Linked DNA regions of Homo sapiens: region 2 is linked to region 1. Evidence: promoter capture Hi-C in 16 types of primary human blood cells and fetal thymus (Javierre and others, 2016). All regions are on one chromosome and are shown on one strand. The core of a region is centred on a gene start or on the middle of the fragment in contact, and the rest is flanking DNA. Distances in the headings are between cores, read along the strand shown.

Region 1 (2,700 bases), core at 10-2,509:
TCCCAGAGGCAAAAGTCGATTCTGAGGTCTCATCTCTCGCTTCTCCTTCCCCCTCCTAGCCAGGATCCCCAGGCCTGCCCCCTCCCTGTTTTCCATCTCCACTGCAGGGTGGCATCCGGTGGACACCCCTCCCACCTGAACCCGCCCATCTCCCCTGCTGCCACCGGTTCCCACGCATCCCAGCCTGCTTTCTTCCTTGTTCCACGAATGCCCTGTGGATCTGAGCCTGCCCATGGCACCCAGCACTCCAGCCCTTGCTGCTCCCCTCCCTGAGCTGAGCCCTCTGCTGGACCCGTCTCAGGCCCTGTGGAGCTGCTGGATGTCCCCGCAAGTGTCCCCTGAGGTGACCAGGCCACCACCCTAAAGGCACATCTTGCTAACTGCTGTCCCCATGCCAGGAACGGTGCACCCAGCAGGTCCTCAGTGAGTCCTCCCTTTCCGGGACACCTTCTGTGCCCTTTCCATGCCTGTGTCCCCACTGTGCCCGGCCAGCCTTGGGCACCGGGGCCCCTTCCTGGGATGCTGGGTACACTTCCTGCTGCAGGTGCTGATGAAGCGCCCTCTCCTGTAAGGCTGAGTGAGTGGGCTGTGCAGTGAGAGCCCTCCACCCCAACCCAGCCACCTCCACTGCCAACATCTCATTCTCAGCACGTTCTCCGAGTGTTTCCTTGGCAGGTGTCTACACAAGCCCAGGTGTTGCGGGCTCCCGATGGCTCAGAGCAGCCGAGCGGGGTGGGGTGGGAGCCCCGGATGGGCTTGCGGGCTGCCCTAGATTCTAACACAGCCTCCTTGGAGGTCACAGGTGGGTCCGAGGTGGGCTCACCCTGCCTTGAGCTTCCAGCAAACACTTCCCGGAGCAGCTCGGCAGGGTCAGGCCAGGTCTCCCATCCTTCTTTCACCAGCGCTGCCCTCGGACCCCCCAGGGCCCTGCAACCCCTCACCTGCTGATGTGCTGAGAGCGTCAGGCCAGACCCACCTGAGGAGAAACCAGGGCCTTATCTGCCACAGTGTAGGGGCCTAGGAGGAGGCAGGAGCTTACCTGAGAACAGGAGAGGCCACATTCTGTAATCCGGGGGATGGCCAGGCTCTGGAAAGTGCCCCAGGTCAGGCCCAAGAACGCGAGTGCTTGCCCAGCCAGCATCTGGCTGTGCAGTGAGAGCTCCCACTGGTAAGCGTGGATGTGAGTGGGGCAAGTTTGCAGGATGCCCTGTGGCAGCGGCTCCAGGCTGACCCTGCAGCTCCAGCCCCAAAGACAAACAGAGGGTGGAGGCTGCTCTTCACAGCTGGAGCGAGCGAGACACTCCCCCTCCCGGCAAAACAGGGCTCGCTTCACAGACAGCAGCCCGGGAGACTTTCCACCGCCTGGGGCCAGAAGACTGTGGCCAGACACTTGTGGAGTTTCTAGGTTTCCAAAGGAAGCATCCAGAAACCTTGGGGCCTTTGGGGTCCGAGGACACCCTAATGGGGTTCCCCACAGGGCGGCCACTGGTGCAGAGATGGCTCCAGGCCGGCGGGATAGGCTGCCGCCGGCGTGCACCTCCCTCAGGCATGCATGAGGCCAGGAGGGTAGACAAGGGCCCTGGAAAGCTGGCTGGGCTGGCAGAGGGGTGGAATCTGTCCTGGGCACTCATACCCCAGAGCCCCTGGCTTCAGCCCCAGCCCCTAAGGGGAGCCCTCTCCTAAGACCTGAGATTCCACCCAAGTCCCTGGCCTCCACCTCCCCTCAAGATGCAAAAGGCCACCTCCCCTGTGTGGTCCTCCCTATGAGCCCCCCCCCACTCCGGAGGGCACCCCCCGAGGCTGGGAACTCTGGGGCCCAGCCTCTGCTCAGGGAGCCGTTCTGTGTCATCTTCTTATTTGGAGCATCAAATGCATAGGAAAGTTTCTGGGCAGAAGCTTACTGCTTCCCATTTGCCTCCAGCCAGGGCAGGGGGTTGGAGAGAACCAGGGTGCAGTTCTTGGGTCCTCCTGGCTCCTCCCTTCCTGGACAGGCACAGAGGCTTCTGCACCTGCCTCAGGTTCTGGGAGGGCACTGCCCCACGTGTGTGTGTGTGTGTGTGTGTGTGTGTGTGTGTGTGTGTGTGTGTGTGTCTGTGTGTGTGTGGGGGGGGGATGGCGGGAGTTAATAGCTGGGGAGCCTGGGAGTGTCTAGCTGGGGTGTTCTGCCTGGAATACCCACAGGACACCCCAAGTGTGGAGGGCGGCACCACCCCCAGGCTGGGAGAGGCTGTGGGCCTCACACTGTGGGCTCGGGTAGTCAGGAGGGAGCTTGAGAAACAAGCTCTGGGGTTCGGTCCCAGGGGAGGGAAGGCGGCAGGGGCTGCTGTGACCGTGAAGTCCTCCCTCCCTCCCACCACCCCGCACTGCCCACCTCCCTGCCTCCTGGGCCAGCACCTCGACCCTGCCCCCGCCTGGCCTAGAGCCCTCCATGGGCTGGAACTTATGCACTCACTGCTGGGCAGAGTAGATGGGGCTGAGCCCGCCCCCTGCAGCAGCGTGCCTGTGGCCACAATGCCCTGGAGAGAGTGGCTAGTGCCAGCCTCCATGCCACGGCATGGTCAGCAGCAGGCAGGCACATTTGGGGGTGGCTCAGGACGGGCCACTGTCATCCCCTATCCCAGGCTGGCTGAGCTGTAAGACAGATACTCCAGCTGGGCCTCGCCCCTCAGCCTGGCCTCCAGCCCTCCTTATACCAGGGGA
Region 2 (2,700 bases), core at 96-2,595, 190 kb before region 1:
GTGGAGGCTGCAGTGAGCCGAGATTATGCCATTGCACTCCAGCCTGGGCAACAGAGCGAGGCTTCATCTCAGGAAAAAAAAGAAGAACAGAAAAGAAAAAATAACAATAAATCAATGTAAGGCCAGGCATGGTGGCTCACGCCTGTAATCTCAGCACTTTGGGAGGCCGAGGCAGGCAGATTGCTTGACCCCATCTCACCAAAAAATAAAAACATTAGCAGGGCATGGTGGCACATGCCTGTGGTCCCAGCTACTCAAGAGGCTGAGGTGGGGGAGTCGCTTGAGCCCAGGAGGTCGAGGCTGTAGTGAGCCATAACCATGCCACTGCACCCGTCTGAGCAGAAGAGCAGGACTCTGTTCAGGAGATTCTCCTGCCTCAGCCTCCTGAATAGCTGGGATTACAGGCGCGCACCACCACGCCTGGCTAATTTTTATATTTTTAGTACAGATGGGTTTTCACCATGTTAGCCAGGCTGGTCTCGAACTCCTGACCTCGTGATCTACCCACCTCGGCCTCCCAAAGTGCTGGCATTACAGGTGTGAGCCACACACCCAGCCCTGCCTGTTTTTCAAAGTGTTTATTTACCGCTGTTATTATTTAATCATAGTATATCAAACTTACAAAAAAACAGATTATAACCTTAAAACTATCTCTTTTAGCCTGGCGCAGTGGCTCACGCCTGTAATCCCAGCACTTTGGGAGTTCGAGGCGGGTGGATCACCTGAGGTCAGCAGTTCAAGACCAGCCTGGCCAACATGGTGAAACCCCGTCTCTACTAAAAATACAAAAATCGGCCGGGTGTGGTGGCAGGTGCCTGTAATCCTAGCTACTCAGGAGGCTGAGGCAGGAGAATCACTTGAACCCAGGAGGTGGAGGTTGCAGTGAGCCAAGATCACCGCACTGCACTGCAGCCTGGGCAACAAAGCAAGACTCCACCTCAAAAAAAAGGGGGGAAAAAAAAGAACTATCTTTTTTACTTGAAATTTTAATTTTTTAAACCACTAGAATTATAAAAGCAGTCCGTCCCTGAAGGCAGATTCTGTTCTGTCCACAGGGAATAAGGAAGATCCTCTTTCTCTAAAATCTCTAAAACGCTGCTCAGATGGGGTCTCATCTCCCTTCCAGCGTGACTGGCTGGCCTGAAGCATAACATCCTCAGATGCTCTAGGTGGGTCCTACACCGGAGCCATTGGTTAGTGCACACCATAACCAACTAGACTCAGCATCCCCGCCCACGGCTGCACATCAAGAAGCTTCACCATGGGCCAGGCACAGTGGCTCGTGCCTGTATTCCCAGCTGAGGCTGGGAGGAGGCTGAGGCGGGAAGATCGCTTGAGTCCAAGAGTTTGAGGCTACTGTAAGCCATGATCACGCCACTGCACTCCAACGTGGGCAACAGAACAAGACCCTGTCTCTAAACATAAAATAAAAAATAAGAAGCTTCACCCTCATCTACACAGAATTCAAATGCACAGCTGAGGCCTCCTACATGCACCCAGGGGTAGTGCCCAGGGCCTAAGAACAGGGCTGCCAGATCAGCTGCCTCTCAGACCACAGCAAGGCAGTAAACCCGGTTTCAGGCAGCAGTCAGTACTGTATTGAGAGCCTGCCCCTCACAACCACCCCAGAGGTGGGTCCAGCACCATGGTGCCAACAGGCCAGGCGCACTGGGAGCTCCTCCACTGGTGGCAAGGTGGCCTGAAGCACCAGCATCTCCTGGAGACTGGGAAACCCAGACTGCAGAGACCGCGGCCAGGAACACTCGTCCAGGTTTGTTTCTCTCTCTCTACTCGAAGCTGAAATAATAGTTTATTCCCAAGTTAGGAAAAGAACAGAACCACACAGTACGCGGTTTAGCTCCAATACATGCTTTCAAATATTTAGGTCGAGTTTTCTTCTCAATCAGCCCTGGCCACTTCAGCCCCCATGTCCTGCATGCAAACACTGCCTCCTTCAGTCCTGCCTACCCAACATCAGGAGCCAAAGAACAGAGAGCGTGCGGCCCGGCCAGGCCCGGCCTCTCCCAGAGCAGGTCATCATCTGGTACTGGCCAGGGAAGGGAGCACTTCAGACTTTTGGCTCTTCATTTTGTTAGATCACATTTTGTTTATTTTGCTTCAATTTCAGTAAAGCTGAAATTTTTAGACCTCTTATACAGAAGCTCTTAATACAAACCCTAGACTTTTTGACTCATAGGTAGAAATCCAAGCAAAACCATCTCTTCAAAGTCAGATTAATTTACAAAGACAAACACCTTGGTTTTGACAGGGTTTTCCCTGGATGGGAAGGATTATGAGCATTTTTTGTTCATTCTGTCTGAATTGACTAATTATCTGAGTATTTACAGCTCTGTGAAAAGAAACTGGACTTCACTTTGGTAAAGTAGAGTAATATTAACAAAAATCACTTAAAACTTCTTTTTTTTTTTTTGAGACACAGTTTCACTCTGTCACGCAGGCTGCGGTACAGTAGCACAATCTTAGCTCACTGCAACCTCCCAGCCTCACCGCCCGATGCAGCTCAGCCTGCATGCGTCCCACCTGTGCTGTCCTCCCCTCACATGTGGGGCAGGTCTGACACCTCAGAGGGTCCTGCTCACTGACCCCCGGCAGTCCTGGAGGGTCTGTGTGGTACTGGGGCTCTAGGCGTCTCCCCCAGCCAAGCTGCAAGCTCAGCACCAGGCTGGCTCTACCCGCCCT

The links. The method cuts DNA at HindIII sites, captures the fragments that hold promoters and counts their contacts. A CHiCAGO score of 5 or more calls a contact.
Region 2: a contact is called between a fragment that was not itself captured here and the fragment with the promoter of IL17REL in region 1, in 2 of 17 cell types (activated CD4 T cells and total CD4 T cells). The highest score is 5.7, in activated CD4 T cells.

What each region holds. Positions count from the first base shown.
Region 1 is chr22:50,011,506-50,014,205 of GRCh38, forward strand. IL17REL (interleukin 17 receptor E like) reads right to left here and starts at 1,260. Exons shown (of 15, transcript NM_001371417.1): 1 at 1,040-1,260. The coding sequence starts at 1,141. RefSeq lists an enhancer at 1,145-1,745. The HindIII fragment of the contact is 1,957 bases long and covers 1-1,894 here.
Region 2 is chr22:49,819,190-49,821,889 of GRCh38, forward strand. The region is part of intron 2 of BRD1 (bromodomain containing 1); the gene reads right to left. Among named protein-coding and RNA genes, the nearest start is that of BRD1, 7.3 kb to the right of the region's middle. The HindIII fragment of the contact is 187 bases long and covers 1,253-1,439 here.